2 separate regions of the Homo sapiens genome follow, and region 2 is linked to region 1. The links are contacts of gene promoters, found by promoter capture Hi-C in blood cells and fetal thymus (Javierre and others, 2016). All regions are on one chromosome and are shown on one strand. Each heading gives the region's core, a stretch centred on a gene start or on the middle of the fragment in contact. The rest is flanking DNA. Distances are from core to core; before and after follow the strand shown.

The links. The method cuts DNA at HindIII sites, captures the fragments that hold promoters and counts their contacts. A CHiCAGO score of 5 or more calls a contact.
Region 2: a contact is called between a fragment that was not itself captured here and the fragment with the promoter of LINC00620 in region 1, in 2 of 17 cell types (non-activated CD4 T cells and naive CD4 T cells). The highest score is 5.6, in non-activated CD4 T cells.

The regions. Positions count from the first base shown.
Region 1 is chr3:13,645,988-13,653,415 of GRCh38, reverse strand. LINC00620 (long intergenic non-protein coding RNA 620) reads right to left here and starts at 2,695. Exons shown (of 6, transcript NR_027103.1): 1 at 2,583-2,695. It overlaps LOC100293612 (a long non-coding RNA gene), which reads left to right. Exons shown (of 2, transcript XR_110033.3): 2 at 4,940-6,303. RefSeq lists an enhancer at 5,058-5,217. The HindIII fragment of the contact is 11,588 bases long and covers 1-7,428 here.
Region 2 is chr3:13,899,209-13,905,978 of GRCh38, reverse strand. It overlaps LOC105376957 (a long non-coding RNA gene), which reads right to left. Exons shown (of 3, transcript XR_001740602.3): 3 at 1-2,339. Among named protein-coding and RNA genes, the nearest start is that of WNT7A, 23 kb to the right of the region's middle. RefSeq lists a silencer at 1,693-1,987. The HindIII fragment of the contact is 1,445 bases long and covers 4,032-5,476 here.

The DNA of each region.
Region 1 (7,428 bases), core at 1,446-3,945:
GATGGCCCAGCAAAGACCATGTGCGTTGGTACTGGCAAGGGGAGCTCCCCAAAAGAAAATGGGGAACACTGCAGGCAGGCACATTAGCTGAGGTTCTGTGGACATGTGCTATCCAAGAGCCCCAAAGGGTGGCTACTAAGGCAATGCCCATTTACAGTTGCGGAAACAGGCCCCAGGAGGCAAGATGTCCCAGCCGATGTCTCTCAGCAGGACAAAGACGCTAGCAGTGTTCACTTGGGACCTAATCTGCAGTTGCCTCCTGCCAACCCCCAACCCCGGCCCACCCCGCACCCCAGCCAGCTCCCAGCCCTCAGGCTTTGCTGGGCCCCCTGCAGGGATGGCTCAGCACCAGACCTAGGGCGTGGGCCTGGTGACCAGGTCTGGGGGTGGGAACATCAGGGCATAAATCCTGACCCAGCTGACAGTGCCCCGGGGCAGACACAGAGGCCCTAGTGTCACCTTCCTGTCCCCACCCTTCCTGGCATGTTTCACAAGGTCAGAGGTGCTGGGTGGGGTGAACAAGCACATAAACCTTGGCCCCAGCCAGGTCAGCCTTGAGCTTCCGACCTGATAAATGGACAGAGAAGAGGACGAGGCCTGGCCCTGCACTGACCTTTAGGGCCAAGAAAGAGTGAGTCACAGAGGGCCAAGCTGCAGTGGGGATATCCAGGGGCCTGAGTGGAAGCCACAGCCAAGCCCCATCCAGGAGCATGCAGAGAGGGACCTGGAGCAGATACCTCAGGTGTTGGGGTGGGGTGTCCAGCTCACAGGCCCAGCCTGGGCCTCCTAACACCAAATGCAGCCACCACCACCCCCAGCCTGCTCCTCCCTTCAACTCTGGCTCCAGCCTGGACATTGGACAAACTCCGATTGCCACCTGAGTAGCTGGAAAGGACCCAGCCCTTCTCTCAAGCAGTTCATGAGGAGGGGGGCGGGTGGAGTGTGCACGCACACATTTGCTTATTCATTCGACACGCATTTGTTAGTGCCTGCTTTATGCACGGTGCTAGGTGCTGGGGACTCGGATCTTATTTTGCTGCATCAGTCCTGAGAAGGACTACCTGCAGGGATGTGTGAGGGCGGTGGGGGCACACAGCAGGCAGATGCCAACTCTGTGTGGGGTGCTCAGAGCTGAGCATTGCAGGATGCGTAGGAGTTTGCCAGGTACAGAATGGGCAGAGGCGTGGAGATGAGAAGGGTCTTGGAGGGTGCTAGGAAGGGCTGGTGGCCAGGGTGGCTGGAGTGCAGGGAGTGGACGGGGAGTGATGGGCAATGAATCTGAAGGGGGCAGGGACCGGAATGTCAGGCCATGGAACTGGGACTTGATGCCGTGGCAATGGGGAGTCATGGTGGGGTTTACACAGGGGAGAGGCCAAAAGCTCAGTGTCCTCTCTGCTAGCTCAGCCCCAAACATCTTCCTCTCACCTCCTGACGCAGCAGATAAGGACAGCAAGGCTCAGAAAGGCCAGGTTTCCTGTCCCTCCCCGATCCTCAGCCCCTCATCACCCGTGGCTGGACTCCCTGTGTGGCCTGGGCCAAATATTCAGCTCTTCTGGGCCTCAGTTTCTGTGTCTGTAAAACGGGGATCATCATGGAAGGAAGGAAGAGTTTAGTGAGGTAAGAAGGCTACACAAGTAGCCCGCCTGTCTCCCTCAGGGGAGGCAAGACAGACTGGTTCCAGACCATTTGCTACCCCAGGAAATGGCTGGGCAAGGTCTCTCTGAGAGCTGGAATGACCAGGCTGAACACAGGGCTGTAGGTCAGGCATCTGCTAGAACCCAGGTACTAGAGATCAGAATGCCCTATACACACACACACACACACACATACACACACACCCAGAACAGTGGCAGACACCCCCTCCCCTCCTCAGATGCGTTTCACCAGGTTCCCCCACACTCACAGCCACGCGCCTACAGAGATGCAAACTCACACACAGCTCCCGGTGTCCTGCAGGCCTCAGGGTAGCCCTGGTCCCAGTGTGCTAGGGACAGTCCCACCTCATATCCACTGCCTTGGCCTAATTAGCAGTGCCCCTTTCTTATTCATGTCCATGTCCACAATAAACTGTCTGATAAACCACTACATAGCGGACACACTGGTGTTGCCTTTCCTCTCCAGAGAGGTTCTCAACCATGCATGTGTGTATGTGTACACACGTGTGTACATGCAAGTGTGCGTGTGCATGTGTTCATGTGCGTGTCTGCGTGCATGTGTGTCTGCTTGTGTGCATGTTAGTGTGTGTGCGTGTGTGTGTGCCAGAGACGCCTTTGGCAGTCTGGGCAAGCCTGTAGGCTCTTAAATGCCGATTAGATTTAAATTATAGTTATCAGAATACTAAAAGGGGTCTGTGACGTGGCGCTACCTGGGCTTCCTTCTTAACCCAGTGAATGACACGGTCTAGCAGCGGGTCTAATACCCACTGCAATTTCAAAGTACTAAGGAAGGAAAGCGAGATTGCGCCATCTCTGAAATCAGTAGTGCTACTATAGCTCATTGCGTTCATAATTAAAGGACATGCTATGTTCCAATTAGAGTACAAAAGATGTTATTTCTGCCCATCCACGTTCACGCACCCCCACCTCGATTTCTCTCCAGGTCCTGAAAGCTGCTGTGCGACGCGGTCCTCGGACCTGGCCACCTGCCTCGCCCCGGCCGGGCCTGGCCTGCACTGGCCCGCACCGGCCCGCACCGGTCAGCACCGCCTCGCACCGGTCAGTACCGCCTCTCCGCTGTCCGCTCCTGCGCAGCCGTCCGCAGTTCCGCATGCCACCGCCAGGTGTCGCTGCACACACGCCGTGGCCCCGAGGCTCCTCTGCAAGCCGCTCCGCGAGGCTCTAGGGGGCCCCCCAGGGTCCTGTTTCCCGCGGCCCGCAACTTATCTGTGCACAGAGCACCCCCACGCTGCGCTAGGAACTTCCGCTGCTCCCCCACCACCTCACTCCTTCGTGCCTTTGAGCATGCTGCCTGCAGTGCCTGCCCTGATCTCCGGCTGGGTGATTCCTGCTGCACGTCAAAACCCACTGGAGGCAACACCTCCTCCAGGAAGCCTTCCCTGATGCCACTATAATGGCCCCTCTTGAGTTTCCACAGCCCCCTGTGTCTGCCTCATCATTGCAGTGACTGCCAACATGGTTGTGTCTGTTTCTGTGTCTGACTCCCCACTAGAATGTGAGCTTTGGGAGTATGGGGAGGGCCACGCAGTGGGCTGTTATGTTTTGTTTTTTAAGTAGACTTAATTTTTTAGAACAGTTTTAGGTTCCCAGGAAAACTGAGCAGAAAGTACAGAGAGTTCCCACACACTCCCTGCCCCTACACGTGCACAACCTCCCCTCTATCAACATCCCCAGCAGAGGGGTGCATGAGGGACCTGCACTGCCACATCAGTGTCACCCACAGCCCATGGTTTACGTGAGGGCTCATTCTTGAAGCTGTACATTCCATGTGTTTGGACAAATGTACAACGACCCTTATCCACCATTATTGTATCACACAGAATAGTGTCACCGCCCAAAAAATTCTCTAAACTCCACCCGTAATCCCCTGTGCTCCCTTCCCCCTAACCCCTGGCAACCACAGATCTTTTTACTGTTCCCATAGTTTTGCCTTTTCCAGAATGTTGTATTGTTGGAATCATACAGTGTGTAGCCTTTTCAGATTGGCTTCAGATTGGCTGGGCCACATGGCAAAACCCCGCCTCTACAAAAAATACAAAAATCAGTTGGGCGTGGTGGTGCATGCCTGTAGTCCCAGCTACTCAAGAGGCTGAGGTGGGAGAATCACATGAGCCTGGTAGGTTGAGGCTGCAGTGAATCGTGATTGCTTCACTGCACTCCAGCCTGGGTGACAGAGAAAGACCCTGTCTGAAAAAAAAAAAAAAAAAAAAAAAAAAAAAAAAAAACAGCCAAACTGTTTTCCAAAGTGGTTGTGCCATTTTGCATTCCCACCAGCAATGAATGTGAGTTCCTGGTGCTCCACATCCTCGCCAGCATTTGGTGTGTTAGTGCTTTGGATATGAGCCACTCCAGTAGGTGCGTGGCAGTATCTCATGGTTGGTTTAACTTGCAGCTCCCTAATGATATACCTATGTGGAGCATCTTTCAGGTGCTTATTTGCCATCTGTGTATCTTCTTGAATGAGGTGTCTGTTTAGATCTTCTGCCCACTTTTTAATTGGGTTGTTTTCCTATTATTGAGTGTTAAGAGTTATTTGTAGATTTTGGATAATAGTCATTTATCAGCTATGTCCTTTGCAAATATTTTCTCCCAGTCTGTGGCTTTTCTTCTCATTCTCCTGAGCAATGAGGTTTCCCTTACAGAGTTGAATCCCTGTGTGGCCCTAGGCAAGTCATACACTCTCTCTGAACCTCAGTTTCCACCTCTATAGATGGGGCTGGGAGCCCTCCCTCCAGGTTGTAGGTGGGAACAGGATCTGAGCAACGCAGAGCCTGCCAGCACAGAGCCTGGACACGGCAGGGGCTGCCGGTAGATGCTGGTGGAACTGAGTCACCTCCATTCCCTTGGGGGTGCATTTTGCCCACAGTTCCATCATTAAAGCCCCTAGCTATCAACGATGGTTCCATCCATGGCAGAGCAGGCCAGGCCAAGCCAGCCCACAAATCTGTTTGCAGGAAGATTCCTGTGGTTGGAATCCCTTGGTCTTAGGAATGGGTCAGAGGAGCAGACCCCAGGGAGCCCTTGGGATCATGGACAGACCTACTGTTCAAGGGAGGGGTGGCCACTCTGCCCAAATTCCCTCAAGGACCACCCCTCACTCAGTATCCCATCCTCTCCCCACTTGGTCCCCACAGACCTCTGGCCTCTGCTCCCACCGCACCTTTCCCTCCAGCCACACTGGCTGTGGGAAAGCCTTGCAGCCCTTCCTGCAGTCAGAAACACCTTTCCCCCGTGCCACTTGTCCAAATCCACCCCTCCATTAGTTGCAGGCAGAGCGGCCAGGCTGGGGCTGCAGCCACGAGGGGGCACTGTTGCCCCGCAGCTGCGTCAGAACTCATCCACAAAGCTGGAAGGTGCTTCTGTCCCACCAGCTTGCAGAGCGGCAGGCGAGGAGAATGCCTGTCTCACAAAGCTATGGAAGCTAAACGAGGGGAACGTCAGTGGCCCCATCCCACACCCGGGACCTGCTGGGGCCGCTCTGATACCTCCTGCGATGGGTGCTCACTGCCTCCAGCCAGGCTGCCCAGCCCTTGGCGGGAAAAGCTCTGCCTGGAGACAGGGCTTTGCAGTGGACCCAGTCTATTTTGCAGAAGCCATAAGGTGCTGTGGGGCAACGGGGTCTTCCAAATGAAAAACGTTGAGAAGAACAGATTTACCTTGGGAACCATAAGAAAGAAGCAGTTTGGGGTTTCCAGAGCAGCCCAAAACCTAAAAGGGCACGTGAAATTCCTCAGTGTTGACATGTTGGCTCAAAACTTTTCTAAATATTGTGCCCAAGCCAAGCAATGACCCACTTGAGCCTACAGCCCACAGGATGGGATGCTGGTTTTGGGTGTAGCTCAGTGACTCAGAGAAAGCAGAACCCTTAGCGCCCGTGTGCAGAACAGCCGGCAAGCAAGCGCGGCACGCCCCTCCACTTGGCACATCTCAGGAAGTGGGATGATTGATGGGGACGCACAGGCTTTCTGGAGGGCAGCCTGAAAAAATGGGGTCAAAACTGGAGTACAGACACCCATGATCAGCAGTTCGCTCCTTGGTTGCATGTCCAGGGAAGTCCACAAATGGGCCCCCTTCTCTGCAGCAGAGTCTGTGGGGTGCGTACCTGGGAGCAGCCTGGACACGTGATCCCAGGGAAAGTGTGGGGTGCCCCTCGGAGGACTCCGTAGCAGGCACCAGCAACAGACAAGATGTGCGCCAACAGGAAGGAACACTTAACACTGCTGACTACACAATCAGGGAGCCGAGTGGCATCCGTAACACCAGGCTGCAAAGCAACTGCAAATATGTGCACCAAAGAGTGCACTGCAGCGAGTGGGGAGGAAGAGAAACTTCACAGTGGAGAGACCCAATCAGCACGACCTCAGCCAGATGGGCAACGCCAGCATCACAAGGGATGCCTCATGTTGACAGCAGCTGCCCTCCATTGGATGTGCTGATCAGGGCACTTTACCTCTGTGATCTTCCTCCCCAGACCCACAATCCCAGTCTAATCATGAGAAAAGTGTCAGACAAACCCCAGTAGCGGGCATCCTACGATGTATCGGGCCAGTCCTCCTCAACTGTCAAAATCGTCAAAACCAAGGCAAGAGCCAGGCATGGCGGCGTGTACCTGTAGTCCCAGCACTTTGGGAGGCTAAAGTGAGAAGATTACTTGAGACCAGGAGTTCAAGACCAGCCTGGGCAACACAGAGAGACCCCCCCCCATCTCAAAACAAAAACAAAATCCCAGAGCTAGTCTAAGAAACCGTAATGTGTATCCCAGAGGAGGTCCTGGGACAGAAAAAGGACATTAAATAAAAGCAAAGGAAAGCTAAATAAAGTATGGACTTTAGTTAAGAATGTATCAATATTGATTGACACATATCTCACTGTGCACATATAGTAATGTAAGGTGTTAACAGTAAACGGAATTAGGTGGGGGACTACTCAGAATTATCTTTGCACCTTTTCTAGAAATCAAAAACTATTCTAAGACTAAAACTTTATTTTAAAAAATACATGCCCACCGCACCACAGTACCCATTTTCTAAACCAATTTTCAGCACAGAGATACACAATGAAGGTGTTAGGATGGAGGCCGGCGGGGCAGGGATGGGGATATTGACACAGCCCCCAGGGACAATGGTGTGGGTGAGTGCCAGCCTTCACCCCCTAGCTCTCCAAAACTAACCCAACAGGAAGGCCAGGGGCCCCAGGCACTCCCCACATGCCCTCTGCATGCCCTGATGGTGGGGCAGCTGCACAGACCTGCCCATCATGGTGTGCCCATCTCTAGCTGGTCCCAGGCTGGCCATGCCCAGAGAGGACAGGCAGGCTGACCCAGGTGTGGGCCCCACAGGCAGCAGGAAGGCCCTGGCAGGGGAGGCCAGCAGGTGGGCTGGGTGCTGCCCTGACCGTGTGGGACTAACACATATGAGTGTGTCTGGGGTCTGGGGACCTGTGTTCCATTCCACACACCCCTCCTCAGGGCCGGGAGAGCAGCGCACATGCGGGAGGGTGGAGATCATGAACATGGGTGTGAATGTCGCTGCTCTAGCTGAGATGGGTCCGCCAGGCTTGTCCAGTCTGAGATGGGTGAGTCACTGTCTTGTCCCTGAGATAAGAGAGGGGCCCAGGCATGAGATACAGCCCAAATGATAAGACTGGCATCCCAGGACCCCACACCATAGCATCCCAATATCCCCAGAGGGATCAGCTCCAGCAGGGCCTCCCTTATAATCCATTCTCCAGCCTACAGCCAGAGGGGTATGGG
Region 2 (6,770 bases), core at 3,505-6,004, 250 kb before region 1:
AGTCAGGTAGCGTGATACCTCCAGCTTTGTTCTTTTTGCTTAGGATGATTTGGCTTTTCAAGCTCTCTTTTAGTTCCATACAAATTTTAGAATAGTTTTTTGTAATTCTGTGAAGAGTGTCAATGGTAGTTTAATGGGAATAGCATTGATTCCACAAATTACTTTGGGCAGTATGGCCATTTTCACTGTATTGATTCTTCCTATCCATGACCATGGAATGTTTTTCCATTTGTTTGTGTCCTCTCTGATTTCCTTGAGCAGCCGTTTGTAGTTCTCCTTGAAGAGGTCCTTCACTTCCCTTGTTAGCTGTATTCCTGGATATTTTTTTCTTTCTGTAGCAATTGTGAATGGGAGTTCATTCATAATTTGGCTCTCTGCTTGCTTGTTATTGGTGTATAGAAATGCTAGCAATTTTTACACATTGATTTTATATCCTGAGACTTTGCTGAAGTTGCTTATCAGCTTAGAAGCTTTTGGGCCAAGACAATGGAGTTTTCTAGATATAGGATCATGTCATCTGTAAACAAAGACAATATGACTTCCTCTCTTCCTACTAGAATACTCTTGATTTCTTTATCTTGCAGGCTCATAGCTGTGGCCAGGACTTCTAAATCTCTCTAAAGGAGAGAAACATAACTGGCTATTCTGGTTGTCGCACCTGTATTGTCTTATCATGATTCCTAGCTTCTTTGCATTGGGTTATAACATGCTCCTTTAGCTCTGTGAAGTTCATTATTACCCACCTTCTAAAGTCTACTTCTGTCAATTCAGCCATCTCAGCCTCAGCCCAGTTCTGTGCCCTTGCTGGATAGGTGTTGTGGTCATTTGGAGGAGAAGACACACTGACTTTTTGAGTTTTCAGTGTTTTTGTGTTGATTTTTTCTCATCTTTGTGGGGTTATCTACCTTCAATCTTTGAGGTTTCTGACTTTTGTGAGATCTTTGTGGATGTTGTTATTTTCTGTTTGTTTTAACAGGCCACTCTTCAGTAAAGCTGTTGTGGTTTGCTGGGGTTCCACTCCAGACCCTAGTTGCCTCGGTTTTTCCCATACCTGGAGGTATCACAAGTGATGCCTGCAAAACAGCAAAGAGGGAAGCCTGCTCCTTCCTCCAGAAACTCCAACTCCGGGGCCACTCACTTGTTGCCAGCCTGAATGTGGCTGCAGGAGGTGGTTGAAGACCCCTGCTAGGAGGTCTCACCCAGTGGGAAAGAACAGGATCAGGGACCTACCTAAAGAAGCAGTCTGACTGCCCTTTGGTAGAGCAGGTAAGCTGAGTTGGGGAGGACCATTCCTCATCTGGACCATTTGTATTCTCCAAAGCCAGCAGGCTGGAACAGCTGAGTCTACCAAACTGCAGAGATGGTAGCCACCCCTCCCCCTGGAGCTTTGTGGGACAAAGCTCTCCCTGGGGGTAGAGATCAGAGCTCTGTCTATAGAACACTTGCTGGAGTGGCTGAAGCCCCTGCAGGGAGGTCTCACCCAGTGAGAAGAAATGGTTCAGGGTCCTGCTTAAAAAAGCAGTCTGGCCAAGATCTGGCAAGGCAGCTGTGCTGTCCTGTGGGGATCCCCCCCTTGTTCAGACCACCTGTATTTTTCAAAGCTGGCAGGCTGAAACAACTGAGTCTACCAAACCACAGAGATGGCAGCCACCCCTACCCCTGGGAACTTGGTCCAGACTCAGGCAGACTCCAGCCTACTGCTGCCGGCTGGCTGGAATTCCAAGCCATTGGGTCTCAACCTGTGAGATGCCATGGAAATGGGGCCTGCAGAATGATGCCACTTGGCTCCCCAGACTCAGCCCCCTTCCTAGGGACATGCACAGATGAATCTTCTGCCTTGCCACAGATCCTGGGGCTGGAGTATGCAAAACTCCTGGGTGTCTGTGTGTGCCTGAGTGGCCACTCTGCCAAGACTCCACACAGGCCATGTATCGAGCCCAAGACCCTGGTATTGTGGCTCATGAGGGGATCTCCTGATCCACAGCTTGCAGAGATCCATGGGATGAGTGTAATTTCTGGGGAAGGGTCACGCATTGACTCACCACTTCCCTTGGCTGGGGGTGGGGGTTCCCTTGGCTTGGTGCTGCTCCCAAGTGGGTCATCACCCCACCCCACTTCTTTTCATTCTCTGTGGGTCAAGCTATTTGCTTAGTCAGTCCCAATATGAGAACCCGAATATCTCAATTGAAGGTGCTGAATTCACTTGCTCCTTTCATTCCTCTCTGTGAGTGCCACAGACTGCAGCTACTTCCAATCAGCCATCCTGGCCCCTCAACAACCAAATGTGATCAATTCTTAGTATACCATCCATACACATGCTGAAATACCAAAAAAGATTTCTGAAAAGAAAGCAAAATATTACAGAAATAAGTGCAATTACTATTTCAGCACAAGATTTTTGGTAGAGAGGAAAAGATTAGATTTTGTTAATTTGGGCTCAAATCCAATGCATTTTTCCCTCTACCTAATGAAATATTACTGAATTATCATATGGCTTAGAGACTCCATTGTAGGGTTCACTTATACCCCCACATTTCAACACCTCTGAATCATGATGCATCTTATAATCAATGAAATACCATAGTCTAGGAGGTTTTTTAAGTCTTAGTGGTACACAAAATAATGGCATATCTCACAGTTCATTACAAGTTTGATTTGATAAAATATGGTACATGACCCTCATAAATAGGTTTCCCTTCTAACTTGTTGGTTTAAAAAATAAAAGTAAGGTACTACGAGAGTAGGGACTCTGAATCATACCCTATCATATTCCTATTCCTTTCCAGTGTATTTGAATTTTTATTCTGCTACCTGAATTAATTTAAATTATGCAAAAAATTATAAACACTATACTGAAGAATCTTAAAGCTTATAAGTTTTTCTTTTTGGTATCTGATAATATCAATTTATTAGAATATGTTTACATGAATTCCAAATTTTCCAAATTAATAGAATAATTCAGTATGTACTCAGGATGAATTTAGTGATTTACAAAGTTTCTTTTCCAGGTGATTTTCCCAAACTGGCTTTTCACCTGTATGAGTTCTCACATGTTGTTTATCCACGTGCATGAGTCTTTACATGCCAAGTAATTAATGAACTCTTATACATTCTGATGAATGTAATAAATTGATAATGTTTTCTCCAGTGTAAATTATTTGCTCTCTAAATGAGGTCTTTATAGCTAAAGGCTCTGTGACATAATCATGAGGTTTCTCTTCAATGTGCATTCTCTGTGGTTAATGAGGTATCTAAATAATTTAATACATTGACTATATTAATGAGATTTAGGAGTATTAGGAGTTTTTACATTAGTAAAAGAGAAGTTATTTTGAAAAGTATTTCCACACTAATTACAGTTTATACTGTATTCTCTCCAGTATGAATTCTCCAATACTAATGAAGGATGATTTATAGTTAAAGAACTGCCCACATTGCTAGCATTCAAAGGACTTCTTACTATTGTTGTACAGAAACTGAGCTACAGGTACAAGGTTTCTCACATTTACTACATTCACGGGGTTTGTAGTGGGTTGAATAGTGTCCACCTCCCCCTCAAAATTCACATCCACCCAGAATCTTGGAATGTAACTTTATTTGGAATGGGGTCTTTTCAGATGTAATTATTGAAGATAAAGTCATACTGAAATTAGGATATGCCCTAAATATGATGACTGGTTTCCTTACAAGAAGAGTAGAAGAGACAGAGACACACACAGAGAAGAAAGCCATGTGAGGATGGAGACTGGAGTGATATAGCTACACATCAAGCAATGCCAAAAATTACTGGCAACCAGCAGAATCTAGGAGAAGGGCATAGAACAGTTTCTTCTTGAGAGCCTCCAGAAGGAACAAACTTCCCAAATCCCTTTATTTCTGACTTCTGGCCTCTTAAGCTGTGAGAGAATAAACTCCTGTTGTTTTAAGCCACCCAATTTGTGCTTATCTGTTTTGGCAGCTATAGGAATCTAATTTCCCCTCCTGTGTGATTCTTCTGATATACAATAAAGTATTATCCACTGAAGAAAGCTTTGCCATATTTGTTATATTGATTAGGATTATCATTTCTACAAATTTTGGGTGGCTAAAGAATTTTAACCCCTGGTACTGTGGCTTTTTACTTTAATTAAAATCATAAAAATTCTCTCCAGTATGACTTCTCTATGCACAATGAAGTGGAATTTTCTAGTGAAGGCCTTCCTACATTTATTACACTTATAGGAACCTCTACACTATGAACCTCTTGATGTCTTATGAAGTTTGTTATAACTGAAAGTTGTCCCACATTATTATATTAAAAAAAGTTTTACACATGCATAGGTTGAACTAATAATTTCCCACATTTTTATGTTTATAATATTTCTTGCTAGCACAGTTTCTCTCAACTGTATCAAAATTACACTTCAAATGCCCTCAAATAACTATGAGATGCTGCTTTCCTTGGAGGAATTAGCTTTGAGCTCAGATAAAAACTGGCTTCCAATTTTACTATATTCATTTCCTTTCTCCACAGTCAATGCTTTATTGAAGATGAATGTACCTAGCTTCAAGTCTCCCTCCCCTCCTTTTGAAATAAATTTTACAAAGAGCTTTTCCTTGTGAATATTCTTTCAGTCAACTTAGGAATACCCTTGTTCAGAATTGTCCTATTGTATGTTTCATGTCTCACCTTCTAGAACTATTGAGAGCTCAATTGCAAATGACCTCTTCCCTAGCTGAAAAAGTACTCATTGTAAGACAACTGGTGCAGAAATAAACAATTCAGGGAAGATAACATTTGAGTAATTTCAAACATGATCTTGCATTATGCAGAAAGCCAATAAAATAATCAGAAGGAAGATGAAAAGATGAAAGAGAAAGTATATAGAACAGAGAGTAAGCACAAAGAGGACTGGACAGGAAACGGAGTTACTAGAAATAGCAGCTAGAGTGATGTCAGAAGGGAATGGCAGAATAAGGACCTCCAAAACTCCCCTACTCCATAAAAGCAATGGGAACACAGGCAATAATTATTGAAATCAAGTCTTTCAGAACTCTAGAAATTAACCAAAATCTTATAATAATCCAGAGAGCATTTATTCAAGAAAATGGCTGAATATTGGTAAGGACAGCATTTCTTTTGGCATATAAATTGCTCTATTCTTACTCACTTTATCCCAACTGCACAGCACCTTTGAAAATCAAAAATCAGTAATCATAGTTAAAATCTGCAACCTAGCAGCTACTGGAGAGGAAGAACAGGTTGAAACATCCAACACCCCAATCCTAGACAACTGTCCTTATTTAATCTGGAGCTTCCTAAGAAAGCGCCACTCAAAGGTCTTCTCTTTATTTTACCTCACTCAGATTTCCTGCAGTGTGAAAGGCCTTTTCTCCACAGGCATTCATCAAAAATCATCAATGGCAAGTGTTTAATACTGCAGCTGCCTGAGGTAGTGATAAGAGTGGATCAAATAACAAGCTAACCAAAAAAGCTTTTAAAAAGTAAAATCCAGGGAACAAAGTGTCCATGGGGGGCTTTAAGCATGCATAGGAATAGCATGCATACTCAGGACTATAAGTATGCTAGGAAAGACATGACAAGGCCCTAGGTTCTCACCTGAGGCTGTCCAGGAAGCTCTGCACGAGCCAGAAGTAAAATCTAAGACAGGGTCATGAACTGCCTCTCCAAGTGTTGAGAGCATGCCTAGACACACACACACACACACACACACACACACACACACACAGTGCCCCTCAGCAGTCCAAGAGTCTTAGTTCTATACTTTAAAAAAATATATCTCCAATTCATAGCTGATTTGCATGGTAGCAAAACAGAGAGTTCAGTGGCCACAAATGAGAACAATATACAGACTTTCCTGAATGAGCCTGATCCCATATCTCAGAGCCCACCAGTGTTAATACCCTGGGTGGGTATCCTTTCATCTCATTCTCTTTAGTCATAAAAAGTATCTATCTATGGTTGTTGCCTCCATTTCCTCAACTCCTATTCTCCCAGAATGCATCCAACTGGCTTCTGTTTCCTGCATCTGAAGGAAAGGACACTGGTTCCACTGAGAGCCTCAAGTAACATTCATGGTGCCAAAACTAATGGTTCCCTCTTAGTCACTCTCCTGCTCACTTTCTTAGTGGTCTTCAATGCAAGGTGGCCCCACCTTTCTTCTTGAAATCATCTCTTCTCAGATATCCATGTCATTACATTTACCTCGTTTTCCATCTACCTAACTGGATGTTCTTTTCTATCTCTGTCATAGACTTCTCCTCTGCTCCATCTCTAGATATTGATGTGCCCCAGGACTCACAGAAAGGCTCTCCATGCTTCTCTATCTGCACCCTCTTCCTGGCATTCAATATTGTCCACATGCCTATGCCTCCCAAATGTAGATCTACTTCCCTGTCTTCTCCTGTGGCTTGCAGACCTCTCCACATGAATATCTAATAGGCAATTCAAACTTAACAATGGAAAAATAGAACTCCTCCCACCAAAACAAAACAAAACAAAACAAAAAAAACACCAATAATACTTTTCCTGCTCCAAGTCTCTTTTCCTCTCTGTCAAGAATCCAGTGTTACAAACCCCCATGTTGCACATGCCAAAACTCAGGAATCAGATTTGGTTTCTTTTATCCTTTATCCCCCATGTATATCCATCAGTAAGCCCTGCCTACTCTACAGCCAAAATAATGTATATCCAAAATTCAACCACTTTTATTCTACTGCCTACTCATGCCATCATGTAATACAATATATAACCTATTGATAGGCATGAC